Regions from separate parts of the Homo sapiens genome. Here regions 1, 2, 4, 5 and 6 are each linked to region 3. The links are contacts of gene promoters, found by promoter capture Hi-C in human tissues and cell types (Jung and others, 2019). All regions are on one chromosome and are shown on one strand. Each heading gives the region's core, a stretch centred on a gene start or on the middle of the fragment in contact. The rest is flanking DNA. Distances are from core to core; before and after follow the strand shown. Region 1 holds the start of CD248 (CD248 molecule). Region 2 has its middle 8.8 kb from the start of SYT12. Region 3 holds the start of RBM4B (RNA binding motif protein 4B). Region 4 holds the start of PC (pyruvate carboxylase). Region 5 holds the start of CNIH2 (cornichon family AMPA receptor auxiliary protein 2). Region 6 holds the start of C11orf86 (chromosome 11 open reading frame 86).

Evidence for each region. Contacts are between HindIII fragments. The study calls those that stand out against the background at their distance.
Region 1: the fragment with the promoter of CD248 here is called in contact with the fragment with the promoter of RBM4B in region 3 in 1 of the 25 tissues and cell types used here (dorsolateral prefrontal cortex).
Region 2: a contact is called between a fragment that was not itself captured here and the fragment with the promoter of RBM4B in region 3, in 1 of the 25 tissues and cell types used here (mesenchymal stem cells).
Region 4: the fragment with the promoter of PC here is called in contact with the fragment with the promoter of RBM4B in region 3 in 4 of the 25 tissues and cell types used here (heart right ventricle, hippocampus, lymphoblastoid cells and 1 more).
Region 5: a contact is called between the fragment with the promoter of CNIH2 here and the fragment with the promoter of RBM4B in region 3, in 1 of the 25 tissues and cell types used here (heart left ventricle).
Region 6: a contact is called between the fragment with the promoter of C11orf86 here and the fragment with the promoter of RBM4B in region 3, in 3 of the 25 tissues and cell types used here (liver, mesendoderm cells and thymus).

What each region holds. Positions count from the first base shown.
Region 1 is chr11:66,315,712-66,318,411 of GRCh38, reverse strand. CD248 (CD248 molecule) reads left to right here and starts at 1,368. Exons shown (of 1, transcript NM_020404.3): 1 at 1,368-2,700. The coding sequence starts at 1,385. RefSeq lists a silencer at 1,170-1,439 and an enhancer at 1,923-2,619. The HindIII fragment of the contact is 8,045 bases long and covers 1-2,700 here.
Region 2 is chr11:67,012,942-67,015,641 of GRCh38, reverse strand. It overlaps a transcript of SYT12 not described here. Among named protein-coding and RNA genes, the nearest start is that of SYT12, 8.8 kb to the left of the region's middle. The HindIII fragment of the contact is 3,268 bases long and covers 1-2,700 here.
Region 3 is chr11:66,676,493-66,679,192 of GRCh38, reverse strand. It overlaps RBM4B (RNA binding motif protein 4B), which reads left to right and starts at 1,306. Exons shown (of 4, transcript NM_031492.4): 1 at 1,306-1,429; 2 at 2,102-2,525. The coding sequence starts at 2,114. RefSeq lists silencers at 1,104-1,383, 1,584-1,693. The HindIII fragment of the contact is 6,531 bases long and covers 1-2,700 here.
Region 4 is chr11:66,956,960-66,959,659 of GRCh38, reverse strand. PC (pyruvate carboxylase) reads left to right here and starts at 1,277. Exons shown (of 23, transcript NM_001040716.2): 1 at 1,277-1,338. RefSeq lists silencers at 840-1,199, 1,520-1,619 and enhancers at 1,270-1,319, 2,483-2,700. The HindIII fragment of the contact is 6,851 bases long and covers 330-2,700 here.
Region 5 is chr11:66,276,925-66,279,624 of GRCh38, reverse strand. It overlaps CNIH2 (cornichon family AMPA receptor auxiliary protein 2), which reads right to left and starts at 1,450. Exons shown (of 6, transcript NM_182553.3): 1 at 1,088-1,450. The coding sequence starts at 1,168. It overlaps RAB1B (RAB1B, member RAS oncogene family), which reads right to left. Exons shown (of 6, transcript NM_030981.3): 6 at 2,133-2,700. LOC107984340 (a long non-coding RNA gene) reads left to right here and starts at 1,100. Exons shown (of 2, transcript XR_001748274.1): 1 at 1,100-1,130. RefSeq lists a silencer at 1,345-1,674. The HindIII fragment of the contact is 9,186 bases long and covers 1-2,700 here.
Region 6 is chr11:66,973,938-66,976,637 of GRCh38, reverse strand. C11orf86 (chromosome 11 open reading frame 86) reads right to left here and starts at 1,334. Exons shown (of 2, transcript NM_001353554.2): 1 at 1,000-1,334; 2 at 1-461. The coding sequence starts at 1,275. The coding sequence ends at 387. RefSeq lists an enhancer at 150-653. The HindIII fragment of the contact is 14,679 bases long and covers 1-2,700 here.

The DNA of each region.
Region 1 (2,700 bases), core at 119-2,618, 360 kb after region 3:
AGAGAGGGCCAGTGACTCCCCTGCAGTCACAAAGTCGATCCATCTGTGGCAGAGGGGGAAGCTGCATCAGGGCAGTTTACTGAAGGGCGGAACCTCTCCCCCACCTCCCCACACTGTTTCTAACTTCTGCTAAGAGTGCAGCGGGTGTGCATGGGTTAATCCGCCAGCCAGCTCCCCAGAGGCCATCCTGGATGATGGGCTCAGTGCACATGCCTCCAGAGGCCTCCAGGAAGGGCGGGAAGAGGACCCTGGCCAGGCCGAAACAGCAGGCCCCGGGGGCAGGGAGGGCTCCACACACGTGATGCCTGTGTCACATATACACATATATGTCACTGTGTGCCCCATGCCCATACATGGCCTTGCATGGGTCCCCTCACAGCCTTCCACATCCTGCGTGCAGCCCAGCCCCCACCCAGCCCCCTAAACCACGCACCCTGCCTTCCTGACGCAGGAGCCCAGAGAGGCATTTCCTGTTTAGGGGCTGCCTCCTCCCCCTCTAAGCCCAGGTTCCCAGGGCCCCAGGCTGAGCTGGGGTGAGGGGAGGGCAGCCCCTGGCCCCCTCACTCCCCCAACACCCCCACACGCTGGCCCAGCTGGAACCAGAAAGCTTGAGTATAGGGGGAGAGGCTGACGCAGGGGCTCAGTAAATAAATGAGAGGCTGAGGATGCCTGTGCCTGGGTGACCAAGCTGTTTCCATTCAGGCCGAATCGGAGGTCTTCATATGTCAGGCCATGTAGAATGCCACACCATTTTTGTATGTGCACCTAGGGTCTCAGCATGTCAGAATGTGTGTACGTGTGGCAAGGGAGTCATCTGCAAGCCAGCATAGGTCCACGGTGAGGTGAAGGGACAAACAGCTTGGCAGAGAGTGCACTCTTGCATGGGGTTGGGGGTGGGGGAGGCGCATGCGCGCGTCTGTGGGGCAAGAAAGGAGTGGGCATGAGGGTGTTCCCGTGCATGGCGAGCAGCTGGGCTGAGACTGCTCCCGGGTGTGATGGGGCTGCTGTGTCCAGATTTGGGTCTCTGAGTCTCTGGGAAGCGACCTCACCCCACAGCCCCGAGCCCCAACTTGAGGGTCACAGAGCTCGGCAGGCAGGCTTTTCCCACCCCCTGACTCTCAGCCCCATGGGGCCTGGGGCAGCCGTCAACTGCGCCTTCTCCCCTCCTCCGCCCCCAACCTTAGAGCCCCCCACCCCACTGCTTCCTGCTCTAGCGGCCCCCGGGGAAGAGGGAGCAGGGAGCTGGCAGCCGCCCCAGCCCACTCCTTACAAGGCCTGAGCCCGGCCCCAGGCCCGCCCCCGGCCCGCCCGCAGGAGGCCCCAGGCCCTCCCCCTGTCAAGAGCTGCCGCCAGCCCGGGGCCGGACCAGTCCGGGGGCATCGCGATGCTGCTGCGCCTGTTGCTGGCCTGGGCGGCCGCAGGGCCCACACTGGGCCAGGACCCCTGGGCTGCTGAGCCCCGTGCCGCCTGCGGCCCCAGCAGCTGCTACGCTCTCTTCCCACGGCGCCGCACCTTCCTGGAGGCCTGGCGGGCCTGCCGCGAGCTGGGGGGCGACCTGGCCACTCCTCGGACCCCCGAGGAGGCCCAGCGTGTGGACAGCCTGGTGGGTGCGGGCCCAGCCAGCCGGCTGCTGTGGATCGGGCTGCAGCGGCAGGCCCGGCAATGCCAGCTGCAGCGCCCACTGCGCGGCTTCACGTGGACCACAGGGGACCAGGACACGGCTTTCACCAACTGGGCCCAGCCAGCCTCTGGAGGCCCCTGCCCGGCCCAGCGCTGTGTGGCCCTGGAGGCAAGTGGCGAGCACCGCTGGCTGGAGGGCTCGTGCACGCTGGCTGTCGACGGCTACCTGTGCCAGTTTGGCTTCGAGGGCGCCTGCCCGGCGCTGCAAGATGAGGCGGGCCAGGCCGGCCCAGCCGTGTATACCACGCCCTTCCACCTGGTCTCCACAGAGTTTGAGTGGCTGCCCTTCGGCTCTGTGGCCGCTGTGCAGTGCCAGGCTGGCAGGGGAGCCTCTCTGCTCTGCGTGAAGCAGCCTGAGGGAGGTGTGGGCTGGTCACGGGCTGGGCCCCTGTGCCTGGGGACTGGCTGCAGCCCTGACAACGGGGGCTGCGAACACGAATGTGTGGAGGAGGTGGATGGTCACGTGTCCTGCCGCTGCACTGAGGGCTTCCGGCTGGCAGCAGACGGGCGCAGTTGCGAGGACCCCTGTGCCCAGGCTCCGTGCGAGCAGCAGTGTGAGCCCGGTGGGCCACAAGGCTACAGCTGCCACTGTCGCCTGGGTTTCCGGCCAGCGGAGGATGATCCGCACCGCTGTGTGGACACAGATGAGTGCCAGATTGCCGGTGTGTGCCAGCAGATGTGTGTCAACTACGTTGGTGGCTTCGAGTGTTATTGTAGCGAGGGACATGAGCTGGAGGCTGATGGCATCAGCTGCAGCCCTGCAGGGGCCATGGGTGCCCAGGCTTCCCAGGACCTCGGAGATGAGTTGCTGGATGACGGGGAGGATGAGGAAGATGAAGACGAGGCCTGGAAGGCCTTCAACGGTGGCTGGACGGAGATGCCTGGGATCCTGTGGATGGAGCCTACGCAGCCGCCTGACTTTGCCCTGGCCTATAGACCGAGCTTCCCAGAGGACAGAGAGCCACAGATACCCTACCCGGAGCCCACCTGGCCACCCCCGCTCAGTGCCCCCAGGGTCCC
Region 2 (2,700 bases), core at 142-2,641, 340 kb before region 3:
GCTAAGGAGGAATCCACGTCCAGGACAGCGAAAATCCCTGGGCCTGGCCATGTGCAGCCCACCAGTCCTGGCTCCAAGTCCTGAGCGCTTTTCTCTCCCGAGGAGAGAAAGCCCTTCCCTTTCCCTTCCCTTTGTTCCCAGCTGGGACTCCCATCATGCCACAACCCCCCACCACCGCCTCCACACCAGGGTAAAGATGTGGCCCCTGGAAGCAGCTGTCCATAGCACAGATCATTGGAGAGCAGCCTGTGGGGTGCAGAGAGGATGCTGAGGAGCTGGGCCTGCATTGGAGGCCAGCACTCATGGGGCCAGGCTGAGGCCAGCAGGGGTGGCAGGGACTTGCTCTCCCAGCATTGGCCTTGGCCGCCCTGCCCTCCTGTTGCGACCCCCTGCCCAGGGACTACTGGTCTCTACTTCCACAAGACACCTGCGCTGCCTTTCCACCTGTCACCGGGATCCCCTTGGTTGGGGGAAGCTTAAGAAGGAGCCGCGGCTCTGGATGCAAGGCAGGGATCTCCCATTGTTGTGGGAAAGTAAGGGGCCAGAGAGACCGAATTGGGTGAAGGAGTTTATTTAAGGTGCACACCGGCTCAGCGGACTTGCATCTAGAAAGTTTGGCACTAGACAAAGAAAGCAGCTGTCTTTTAAGTAGTTTGTGGCGGGAGCTACGTGATGCAGGAATATTTTACTGTGAAAAATAATTTTTTTTTTTTTACTTCATTCCAGCCACCCTGCATATACCCAAGGCAGCCTGACTGCCACCAGCCTCCAGGGAGCGTCGAGAGTGGTAGTAAGGAGGCCACGAGGATCCCTGCTGCCCTGGAGGGCAGGACAGGGAACCTGGCCAGGTTTGTGGGCCACGGACAGCCAGCCAGGGCACCTAGGCCCCTCTGGGTTCTCAGACCCCCATGCCATGCCTCAAGGCTGCCTCCAAATCAGTCAAAACAGCCTTGGGGCCTGCCTGCTACCCCCACCTCCACCCCAGTCCTACCTCCACTGTGATCCCTCAGCCCCTTATTGTCCAGTCTGGGTCTCACCCACAAGGCCCCAAGCTCCCAGTTGCTGGGTCCCCTGCCTGGCTCACAGACCGGCCTCAGTGCCTGGCAGAGGGCAGCCCGGCAGGAGCCGCTTCTCCAACCCTCTCCAGAGAAGCTGGTGCTGGGTGCGTCAGGGAAGCCAGCCCTTGGATCTGTGGGTCCTCGCCTGTTCCCCGCCCTCATACTCAGCTACCCCAGGCATCTGCTCTGGGCGTGCTGCTTGGATTCACAGTCATCAAACTCATTAACAAGATCTTCACTCCTTCCAATGAGCACTTTCCATGGGATGTGGAGGTGAAGGGACACCCTCCCTGATCCCGGACACATCTACACACATCTAGGCTGATGGGATGGTTGCAGCAAGTTGACTTGTGACCCCCCAAAAAGATACATCTGAGTCCTAACACCTAGCACTTGCGAATGTCATCTTTTTTGAAAATAGGGTCTTTGCAGATGTAATTAAGTGAAGGATCTCAAGCTGTAATCACTTTAGATTTACAGTGGGTCCTACATGCGATGGGTGGTGTCCTTATAAGAAAGAAAACAGGGACATCTCAGCCATGAAGGCACAGAGAGAAGAAGGCCACGTGGAGACGGAGGCAGGGGCTGGAGTTATGAAACCCTCAGCCAAGGAATATCAAGGGTTGCTGGCAGCCCCCGGAAGCTGGGAAAGAGGCCTGGGATGGATTCTCCCGGAGAGCGTCTGGAGGGAACCAGCCCTGCCAACACCTTGATTCTGGGCTCTGGCCTCCAGAACTATGAGAGAATTAATTTCTGGTTTTGTAAGCTGCCAAATTTGCAGTAATGTGTCATGGCAGCCCCAGGAAAGGAACGCAGACGGCATTAGCCCCAGCCTGTGCTAAGGGCGCTGAGCAGACTGCAGCTGAGTGGAGGGCAGGGAGGCCCTGCGCCGGGGGCCACACTTGACAGGGGCCTGTAACCTCCTGAGAAGACACACAGACAGGGGAGGATCCATTCAGTAACAAGGTAACTGGCTGGTGGGATCCTGGCCCAGGGAGGGGGCTTGTGGGCCAGGAGCCTCGAAGGGTGAATGGGATGGGCTCAAGGACTAAAGGCCTTGACTGTCAGGGTTGGGGCTGGGACAAAGAGGAGAGAGGCAGGAGCCCTGGCTGAAGACGAGAAAGGCCCAGACGCTCACTCAGTTCCTGGAAGGGCTGCAGGGAGAAAGGGGAGAAGGTGCAACCCTGCCAGGCCCTGAGCACCAGCGCCCTGAGGACCAGCACCCTGAGGAAGCTGCAGGGAGGCAGGTATCAGCTCGGCAGACACAAGAGCTTGCATGGCCAGGGCCCCCACAGTGAAAATGACCCCGAGTTGGGGCAAGCTCCCCATCAAGGGAGATATGTAAATAAAAGTGCCTGGTAGGGATCCTAGCCCCAACTAAGTTATGTTATGGGTGGTCCCTGAAGACCCCTTTGCAACCTGAGACACTACATATTGCCTGGCTGAGCTGCTCCTCCCCACTCTGCGTGTCAATTACACTGAATTGATCCGGCTCAAGCCACTTATACCCACTTTCCTTCCGGACTCTGGGGCCTGCACCTGTGAGGACAGGGACTCACTCCTGGAGATCTGGAACTCAGGAATGACGGGCAGATTCCCAACCTCCTCCCAAAGGAAAGGATGACCCCCCCCAGGTTTCAAA
Region 3 (2,700 bases), core at 57-2,556:
GTGGAAGAGGGCAGCCTGGGGAATGTGTCCCAGATGGTATCAGAGAAGCCATTATGGAGCCACTAAAATGAGGAATGGTGGCTGACAACCTCCCTGGCGGGCTCTACTAGGAGATAAACCCAATCCATCAATCTCCATAAAAGGCTACTCTTTGCTGGAAGGTGACAGTGGGGAATCAGCCTAAACTTCTTTTTTTTTTTTTTTTGAGACCGAGTCTTGCTCTGTCACCCAGGCTGGAGTGCAGTGACGCCATCTCGGCTCACTGCAACCTCCGCCTCCCGGGTTCCAACGATTCTCCTGCCTCAGCCTCCCGAGTAGTTGGGATTACAGGCGCCCGCCACCACGCCGGGCTATTTTTTGTATTTTTAGTAGACACGGGGTTTCACCATGTTGGCCAAGCTGGTGTCGAACTCCTGAACTCGTGATCCGCCCGCCTTGGCCTCCCAAAGTGCTGGGATTATAGGCGTGAGCCGCCGCACCTGGCACGCCTAAGCTTGTTTTTACCGCCAGGAGGTGCCCTTGGACCACAGCTGAATTTTGAATGCTAGACAGTCGGGAAACTCAGTTGCCTAGACTTCCAGCTTGGTGTGTACGAGGAGACCCTGTCCCACCCAGAACTAGGGACCTCGCTGGGCCTCTCCACCAAGTATTCCTCTGGCGTGCTCACCACAGACCAGGACTGTGATGGACACACAATGAGTGAGAGAGAATCAGACCACGGATACTCACGAGCAAACAAAACATGACTAAGCGTAGCCTGGGTAGCAATGCCTCTTAGGCCTGTCCCAGTTCTGCCAGGTTATCTTTCTGCCCCTTGGTTCTCAGTTTCCGTAGCAATAAATAACACCTCTGCAATGACAAACTTTAAAATAATGTTTAAAGCGCTACAAAACAATGACTAGTTTTGCTTAAAATGTGGCGCACCTGTATTTTTGAAATGTTGCCCCAAGCTGCCACAGAAGCCGGCCAGCCCGCTACAAAAGCCCCTTTTTAGGGCCCTCGGGGAGATTCCTCTGTCATTAGCTCCCCGCCCCCCTCAAAGGGCCCAAGAGCAGGACCCATTGTGGTGAGCGACTCCCCAAGGCCTCCGCTTTTCTAGGCAGTGGTTGCGTTCAGAGCCCCTCTGACGCAGCAGTGGCGACCCTTTCCAGGGTGGTGACTGGCTGGCTGGGGCTGGGGGTGGGCTGACCTCCGCGGCGCCGCGCCACCACCAACAGGCCCCGCCCCCGTGCTGCGTGGTCATTTGTATGCAGCCTCGGGATTGGTCACTCGGCTCCCGCGAGGGGAAGGGGAGGGAAGCAGCGCGCACTCGCGCGTGCGTGAGCTGGCGCGCGAGAAAGGGCCCGGTCGCGTCCAGGCTCGAGCGGCCGTCGCCATTTTGTAAGGTTCTCTCTGACGTGGGAGCCGCCGTCGCTGCCGCCACCCGGAGGTGCGAGGGGGTCGTGTGTGTGTGATGTGGGGAGCTCGGGGGCGGGTCGGGCCGGGCCTCCGGCAGACTGCACGGCCCGGATTTGGGTTTCTCATTTTGCAGCGGGAGGTCTGGGAAGACAACGGGAGGAGGCGGGGCCGGGTCTCCGGAAGGAGGCGGGGCAGGGGTCGGGTCGAGTCTTTGTTGGGGCGAAGAAGCTGGAGGGTGGGCCGCTGGGGGCGAGGTGGTTGGTCCCCGGTTTGGGGGAAAGGGGACTTTTTTCTTTTTAGAGTATCTTGAAAGGCGCTAGTGCGCGCAGGAGAGGTACACAGATTTCCCTCCAAAACCTTGTTACCAGGCGCACTGCGATTGATGCCCCTTGCCTTTGCTTGGGCTTTTCTCTTCCCTCATTTTAAGACATGAAGCAGCTAATTCTGGTATTTCATTGCGCTCCACTTCACGGAGATGATAGACTGGGCTATGCATGCTGACCCTCGACCTCCTGTTTGCATGTCACGCATAGCTCGCACTTCTCGAGAACAAACCGCCCTTCTTCTATTGAGGAAGAATAATGAATGTCTGTACGAGGGTCTTGAAGGTGCAAGAACTTTGGAGGATTAGACGAAAATGCTGCAGTGCACCGAAATTTCCCACCACACCCCTGACTTTTGAAGTCTTGTGTTTCTCTCCCAGGCTCTTGTCAGGATGGTGAAGCTGTTCATCGGAAACCTTCCCCGGGAGGCTACAGAGCAGGAGATTCGCTCACTCTTCGAGCAGTATGGGAAGGTGCTGGAATGTGACATCATTAAGAATTACGGCTTTGTGCACATAGAAGACAAGACGGCAGCTGAGGATGCCATACGCAACCTGCACCATTACAAGCTTCATGGGGTGAACATCAACGTGGAAGCCAGCAAGAATAAGAGCAAAGCTTCAACCAAGTTACACGTGGGTAACATCAGCCCCACTTGTACCAACCAAGAGCTTCGAGCCAAGTTTGAGGAGTATGGTCCGGTCATCGAATGTGACATCGTGAAAGATTATGCCTTCGTACACATGGAGCGGGCAGAGGATGCAGTGGAGGCCATCAGGGGCCTTGACAACACAGAGTTTCAAGGTGAACTGCTCTGGGCCTGGGTAGTAGCGCCGAGTGGGGTCTAGCTCAAAACAGGCAAGAACACAAGACTATAGAACTTGCTGGGTGGTCTCTTCCATTCTGTTTTAGCTGGAAATAATAGATTATGTTTACCGCTCTTAAGCATAATTTACCCCTGGGGAAGCAAACACTTCCC
Region 4 (2,700 bases), core at 28-2,527, 280 kb before region 3:
GCATTTGGGAAGGGCTGCCCCCACAGATCATTCACAAGTAAATTCTTGCTGGCCTCCCATAAACAAGGACAGGTCAATTGTAGCTTCAGGTCTACAATCTAAGTCTAGCTCCTAAAAATTCCACAATAAGAATGTCATTACAAGCTTATTTTCCCAGGTGCAGAACAAAGTCAAAACTACCTACTCAGAGACATCTGCATAACTGACTCTTCCTTTACTCTCTTTTTCTCTTCAGACATTCATCTCATCTTACGTAGATTTACCGGGCATTAGCTAAAGTCCCATAGGAATGTAACTATTGTCCTAATCGCCTACTTGCCCTTCTTCCTACATGCCTTCCCCTCATTCCCCCTTTAAGGAAATGCATAAATACTAAACCTCCCGAAAACCTCTTCGGAAAAACAACCACGGATGTGTCTGTGGTTCGTGTTTTTCCCGAGCACGCCCTCAAACTGGATTAATAAGCCTCGATGACAGAGACTTATGCCTCAGTCACTTGTTCCACTTGTCAAAGCTTTCCTCTTTGACAAGTGTCTTGGGTCTTGTCAAGTGTCTTGTGTCTCAAACAAGGCTTCCAAACCCCCTAGGTCCTGAGTAGCTTCGCTCTGCAGATGACAAAACCGAGACTCAGAGGTTAAGTTGCTTGCCCAAGGTCACACAGACGTACTGTAGACCCCCATCATCATCTACGCAGCTGTTAAAGGACATAGTCATGTAACCCGTGTGGCACAAGCGCCTTCTCCTTCCTCCTGCCCTTCGCTAACGTTAGCTTTTCCTGCGACCTCTTCTCCGCTAGCCAGCGCGTATCTGCGTCTAGCCGGGATGCCTGAGCCCCAGTGCGAACTGTTGTGCTTGCAGCTTCGGGAGACACGTGCTACTCGGGTGAATGAATCGAACGTCCCCACCCCCGCCGACAGCCAATAACTGCGAGCCACAGCCCGGCCACTTCCGCCTATTGCGGGCGTCGGCTAGGGTCCGGCGGCCCACGTGAGGCTCCGGAGACAAGGGAGTAGGCGGTGGTGCGCCAGGGGCGGGCTCTCCCAGCCTCGCCACTTATCCAGGCGCTCGCCGGGGACGGGAGGGGCGGGGCTGACGTGGGGCGCCAAGGCTTAAACGTGACGGACAGGCGGGCACAGGGAGGAGTCCAGAGCCTAGGGGCGAGGAGTGACGGAGAACACTGCCCAATAACGGGAGGGGTTGGGCTGTCTGGGCCAATAGGAAGTCCGTAAGGCGGGGCCGGGACTGCAGCAAGTTCGGTTGCACGGAGACCGCAGCTGTTCTCTGTCAGTGGAGGCAGCAGCGGTAGAGGCGGCGGCGAGGACTGGCGACGGCGAGGAGGTGAGTGTCCGCCGCGCTCCGCACGGTCCTCTTCCCGCGGCGGGTCGGAGCGGGTGGACGTGCGCCGGCACCGCTGCGAGGGACGCTTATGTAAGGGTCGCGCGCGCAAAGGCGGCGCGGGCTCCGCGAGTGACGGCTGGAGGAGACAGCGACGGGCTGTGCGCGGTGCGCGACGCGACGCAGCGGACGGCGCCCCTCCCCCTCGCGCGGGGGCTCGGCCGGCTGGACCCGCCCCCGGACCCGCCCCCGGCTGCAGCCCCCGAGCGCCCCTCCGCAGCGTCCGCCTGCGGGCTGCCTCATTCTTGCTCTCGGGCCCATTTTGCAGATGGAGAAACTGACTAAAGCGCCTCGCGCGAGGTCCCTGAGGGTTCGAACCCAAGTCTGTCAGGATCGGGAGCCCAAGTTGTCCCCATCGTACTGGATGTGGCTCAGCTCTGCAGGAAGCCGCGGCGTGTAAGGCGAGGGCTTTCCTTGTTCCTTGCTCTCGCACTCCGCCTCCCGTAGGATCCTCTACTTTGTTTCAGACGGGGAAGCTCCAGGCGCCCAGACGCAGTGATTCGCCCAAGGCCGCTCATTCAGGAGGTGGGGCTGGGCTCAGCCCCTTATTTCTCCAGCTTTTAGTAGTTTACAAAGCGCATCAGAGTCGGAAGCCAAGTCCCTAGGTCCCTGGCAACTTTGAGATTCTTTTGTTTTCTTTTCTTTTTTAGACAGGGTCTTGCTGTCACCCACCCAGGCTGGAGTGCAGTGGCGCGATCTCGGCTCACTGCAGTCTCGACCTCCCGGGCTCAAGCGACCCTCCTGCCACAGTCCCCCAGTGCTGGGACTACAGGCGGGCGCCACCACGCCTAGCTAATTTTTGTATTTTTTGGTAGAGACGAGGTTCCGTCATGTTGCCCAGGCTGGTCTCGAACTCCTACGCTCAAGCGAGCGGCCTGCCCTGGCTTCCCAAAGTGCTGAGATTACAGGCGTGCCTCGTCTGAAATTCTAAAAAATCAGATTGTGTCTTTATTTTGTGAGAAGAGGTAGGCCTGGGCTCCTTACCCGTTCTCCAGCTGAGAAAACAGGCTCAGAGAAGTACCAACACTTGCTGATGACAACCAGAACCTCCAGAGTGCCTGCCATCTGCCTCCCTATTGCTCCCGTACCCACTGCCACCATCAGCCCTGGCTGGCCTCCCCCAAGGCACCCTTTCCCTGTATGTGATGCAAACACTTGTGCTGGGGGTGGATGTGCTCAGCATTTCTCTCACTTGCAGCTACAGCTTCCTGCCTGCAGGCTCTCCTTAACTGTTGAACTCTTAATCACATTCTTTTGCACACCTACAGTGTTCCTATCCCTACACTGGGCCGAGAGACAGCGTGG
Region 5 (2,700 bases), core at 201-2,700, 400 kb after region 3:
GAAGGAGGGAAGGGCTATGGGAAATGGGATTGAGGGAGGGATAAGAGGACCCCTGAAAGGGAATGACAATCAGGGAGGTGTGCGCGGGAGGTGTGAGCAGAGGATGCTGAGCTGAGCCAGCCAGGGCCGAGCTGGGCAGGCTGTTACAGAAACAGGCACGGGGTTTGGGTGGGGGTGGGGACGGAGGGCAGTAAAGTGGGGCCAGGGGCCCCCAACAACCAGCTGGAGGCTGATTGATAGTTCTGTAGTGAGGGGACGGGAGCCAGGCAGAGGAGGCCCTGGAGGAGAGGAGCGGGAGGGGAGGAGGAGGGAGCCTGGGGGAAGCGATGGGTCGGATGCAGGATGAGGAATGGACATTTTGAAGAACCAGGTGTGAGGCTAGGCCAGGGCGAGGGACAGACCAAGGGGTATGTGAGAGACAAAGGGGAAGGGGGACAGGAAGAGGAGGGAAGCTGGAAAATGGAGAGGAAACCTGGGGGGCTGGGAAGCCCCCAACAGGAGGGGTAGGGAAACCCAAGGTGAGCCGGTGGTGGGGGCTAGGTCTCTGGGGGCTGATGAGAGCCAACTGCTGCTTGGTCAGGGAGGGGGCTGGGAAGGCAAAGGGTTAATGGACTCTGAGATCTGTGGGTCCTGTAAACAGATGCAGTTGCCATAGCAACCAGCTCCATCACTCTGGCTGGAAAAACCCACAAAGGCGGGGGGGGGGGGGCAGCAGACAGACAAACTGCCCGACGGACTAATGGAGGCGGCTGGATGGTGGTGGGGGGGGACATAGAAGATAAAGCAACAAAAATGCCAGAATTCCACCCCCCACCTCACGGGCTGCATGGGAGCAGAGGACGAGGGCAGAGGAGGGGGTCAGAGACCGACTGACATACACACAGACAGGCGGGGGCGGCGGAGGAAGGGGGGCCCCGGGAAGAAAGCCGACCACGGGGGGTGTTAATGGGGGCGAAGCCGACAAGCCGACGGCTGGGGGATAGCAAGTTTCCCCTGGGCTCTGAGACCACCCGCCCTGGGTCCCTCCAGCTCCGCGTGGCCCCTGCCCCCCACCCCGCCCCCAGCCCCAGCCCCAGCCCGGCCTTACGTGCCAGATGACAAAGAAGATGAGGGAGGCGCACAGCACCAGGGTGAGCATGTAGCAGAACGCGGCGAAGGTGAACGCCATGGCCCCCGCGCCGGGCGGCGGCCCGGGGGGCGCCAGCGCGGGGCCCGGGCGCAAGGGGACGCCCCCCGGCCCGCGCTTAGGGCCGGCCGGGCATGGCCCGTGGGGCTCGGGGGACGTGGGTGATGCGGCCGGGACCGGGACCGCGGGGCCGTGGGGGGCGCGGGGCGCGGGCCGGTGGGCTCGGGGGGCGCGTCCGCTGCCGGCTGCCCGGGCCCCGATCGCTCATCCTGCGATCCCTCGCCCGCGGCTCCCTCGCTCTCCAGCCCGCGAAGCCGGCGGGGCGGAGCCGGGGGCGGGGCCGCCGCGCGAGCGGCCTCGGGCGGGGCTGGGTCTCCGCGGGCCCCTCGTCTGCCCGCCCGGCTCGGGCGCCACCCCCAGCCCCGACAAGCCCGCGGCCGTTCACCCTCCGGACAGCGTAGACGCGGCCGCCCCCGGCACCCCGCACCCCTCGGCACTCCAGCCACCGGCACAGCCGCACTCGGCCCCCTCGGGCGGGCGCTCAGGGCAAAGGCTGAAGTGCGAGGCACTTGTCACTGTCGGAGACGGCAGAAGCACCTGGCTGGGACACACAATGACGCCAGGACAGGGGCTGAATGGGAGCAGTGGGGTTTTGGGGGGCGCTGAAGGAGGTTGGGCCAGGTGCAGTGGGGGCCCTCTCAGCGGCTGCGCGACCCCACACCTCTGCCGTGTGCCCCGCGGGAGTTGGCGGCGGCACGCCAGGTATGAGCTGATGGCCGCCTGCCTCTTTCCCTGACAGAACGGTGCTGGGCCCTTGGGGACAGACCACAGAAGCACAAGCAGCTTTCCTGGCCTCAGGAAACGGGGTCAAGGGCTTTTGCCAGCAGCCTTAGGACACAGAAACCAAGCCAGGACCCCCGTGCACCCCACCAAGCCCAGGGTTCCAGTTCCATCCCCCCACCCCAAGGCTGGGCTTAGACCACAGACCACACTTGGCCACCACAACTTCCTTGCAAAAACCCTCAGCTCACCCGAGGGCCAATGGAAATTTATTAATTTTTTTTGTCCTTTTCCATCTTTCCCCAAGTGGCTTTTCCTTGCAAAATGCCTGACATGACACCAGAGGGGAACCTGGGAGCGGGGGGCACCCCAAGGGGGCAGCCCAGGGACTTAAATACAAGCTGGAGGGCAGGGCACAGGTGGGACAGGCAAGAGACAGCACGAGGGACATGGCTTCTCAGGGAGACCAAAGACTTGCTTTCTTGCAGGAAGCAGCTGTGCCAGAGGGCAGGGGACTAGGATCCTGGGTGCAGAGTGGGTGAGCAGAGAGGCCCCCAATCCTGGATGGAACCCACATTCCCCAGAGAAGTAGCGGCAGGGGATGAGGGCCTTCCCTGGTGGGCTCCAGAGACGGAGTGGGGAGTGAGCCAGATGTGCTACCTTGGGGAAAGGGAGGAGGTGCTAGCAGAGTGAGGGTTAAGGCTGGTGCCCAGCCTCTGGCACGGTGGGCCTTCCGCCTCCGCCTGACATGGGGACAAAGGGGCACGGTGGGCAGGCAGCGCATGGGTCTGTCT
Region 6 (2,700 bases), core at 85-2,584, 300 kb before region 3:
ATCAAGCTCCGTCCTGGAAGTTGACAGCTGGTCGTGTGGGGCAGGAGCGTCCACAGCCCCCATTCCGGGCAGGCTTCTTCTAAACCTTCATAGAATCATAGTCCAAGGCCCCTACCCAAGCCCAGAGGGCAGACAGCTGAGCCCCCTTCTTTTTGACCCTGCTGGGATCTTCAAAGAGAGCTAGTGCTGGAGTGGAAGGGCCAGAGCTAAGAGTGGCAGCCACGTGGCGACTCCAGTGAGCTGGTGGCAGAAGCCTCCTAGGGCCACCCAGCCAAAGTCCAGAGAGCTGTGAAGAGGTAGGTCAGCAGACACGGTGGGCTGGTCCAGGCACAGCAAGGGGGCCACGATGGCTTCCAGCATCTTTAGCTGATGGTGCCCAGTGTGGGCTACGGGGAGGCCGGCTGACTCAGAGTCACGCTGGGGAAGATGGCGACAAAGCTCTCCCACCTTCTTCTTACCTGCTGGAAGACAGAGGTGGGGGAGGTCCCATGGGCTGAGTGGTGGGCTTAGATGTTGTTCCACCCATAGCCACGAGGTGGGGGTAGACCCCAGGTAGAGAAGCACTGCTCATTGGAGACCCTGTCTCTTAGAGGAGGGAGCCTGCAGCCCCCCACAAAGGGGTCCAGATCTCCCCTTTTTCTCTGGGGTGAGAGGGTCACACAGTGTACTTCCCAGGAAGTTGCACTGGCTGATCTCCTTGCCTCCTGCTCTATTCCCCCATCCAGCATACTATCAATCAGCTAAAAACAGCGCTTACCATATCACCCTCCTCCTCTAAAACCTTCAGTGGCTCCCCAGTGCCTGTGGGATAAATCCCAAATGCCTTCAGGGCCCTCTGAAACGTGGCTCTGGGGTGTCTCTCTCTGCACCCTCATCTCCAGGCAGCTCGGTTGTCATCTTGGTACACAGCCTGGGCTGGCTCTGTCTCTGAACCTTTCCTGCCCTGGAATCCCTGCCCACCTGCTGTGGTACCCTCCATCCTTCAGCCCACAGCCATACCTGTTGGTACCGCCTCAGCCACCACCGGCTGCCTCTTCGCTGGGCTTGGATCAGCTGCTCTGTGTCCCCCAGGCTCCCCGGCACCCGCTCCTGGGCAGTGGCATCTGGCCCTTCTGTGCCTCTCTCGAGGCCCTGGGACCTGGACTTCTCTTGCCCCTGTCTGAGGCTTAGCGCCCTGCGGAGTTGGCCCTCCTGGGGCCTCCCCCAGGGCTCCTGCAGCTTTCCATAGGAGGGTCGGGGCTCTCGCAAGGACTGACTTCGCAGCCCTGTTCCCATGGCTCCGGAGGCTGCAGGCACAGGACTGCTCCGGCCCCTCAGCAAGACACTGGCCCTCTGAGGTGGCCCAGTGCCTCCACCCATCTGACAAGAGATCACTGGGGGCAAAGGTTGGTGCTGCCAAGGTGGCTTTCATAAATCAAAGGGCAGGCCACAGGGCCAAGCATCCCTGAGTCACCTCACCACTGCCTCCCCACCTTCTGGGTCAAGGAGTGAAGGCCAAGGGGAGGAAATTGCCACTCCCTCCTTCACCTATCCTTCCCCCCTCCCCCTCCCCTCCCCCTCCCCTCCTCTCCCCCCTCCCTCCTCCCCCATCCTCCCCCCTCCTTCTCCCCTCCCCTCCCCCTTCCTTCCCCTCCCCTCTCCCTCCCCCCTCCTCCTTCTCCTCCTTCTCCTCTAGGCAGCTTCCCTGACTACCTCATCCCTGAAGAGTTTGTTCTCCTCTGAATCTCTATGGCCCCGGCATCCATTGACACTGAGCACCATGGCTTAACAACCAAACAGAGACAGCCTTTTAAGAATTGGGCCAGGCCCGGTGGCTCACGCCTGTAATCCTAGCACTTTGAGAGGCCGAGGCAGGCAGATTGCCTGAGATCAGGAGTTCCAGACCAGCCTTGCCAACATGGTAAAACCCCGTCTCTACTAAAAATACAAAAAATTAGCTGGGCATGGTGGCGGGCGCCTGTAATCCCAGCTACTCAGGAGGCTGAGGCAGGAGAATCACTTGAACCCAGAAGGCGGAGGTTGCAGTGAGCCGAGATTGTGCCACTGCACCCAACCTGGGTGACAGAGCAAGACTGCGTCTCAAAAAGAAATATATTTTTCAAAAAAGCATCAGTATGGCTCCAAGCTAGAACAATCACATTCACAAAGACAGCAAGGAGGATGGCCGTTGCCAGGCACTGGGGGAGGGAGGAATGAAGAATTTAATGGCTGTAAATTTTCAGATTTCATAAGATGAAGAGTTCCAGAGATTGGTTGCACAACAATGGTTGAAATGGTAAACTTTATGGTATATGTGTTATACAATACTGGAGAATTTCTTTTTTTTTTTTTTTTTTTTTAAGAAACAGAAGGAAACAGGACGGCTCCAGGCTAGGAGTCAGGAGGCCTGGATTTTTTCCAGGCCCAGCGCTGCCCCTAATGTCCCAGCAGCACAGCACTATCCTTGAGCACTCAAGCTCTGAGGACCAACTGCCTCTGGGTAAACTGTAGCTTCATTCCTTGCAGCCTTGTGACCTTGGGCACATTTTTCTCCTTCATTCGTAAGAGGGACAAATAACTTGGGTAATTGTTGTGCGTATTAAATGTGGTCCACAGGGCTTGGCACACAGCAAGCCCTCGAACAAAGTGAGTTGGTGGTTGTATTTGTCCGTTCTCCTGCTGCTATAAAGAAAGACCTGAGGCTGGGAGCAGTGGCTCATG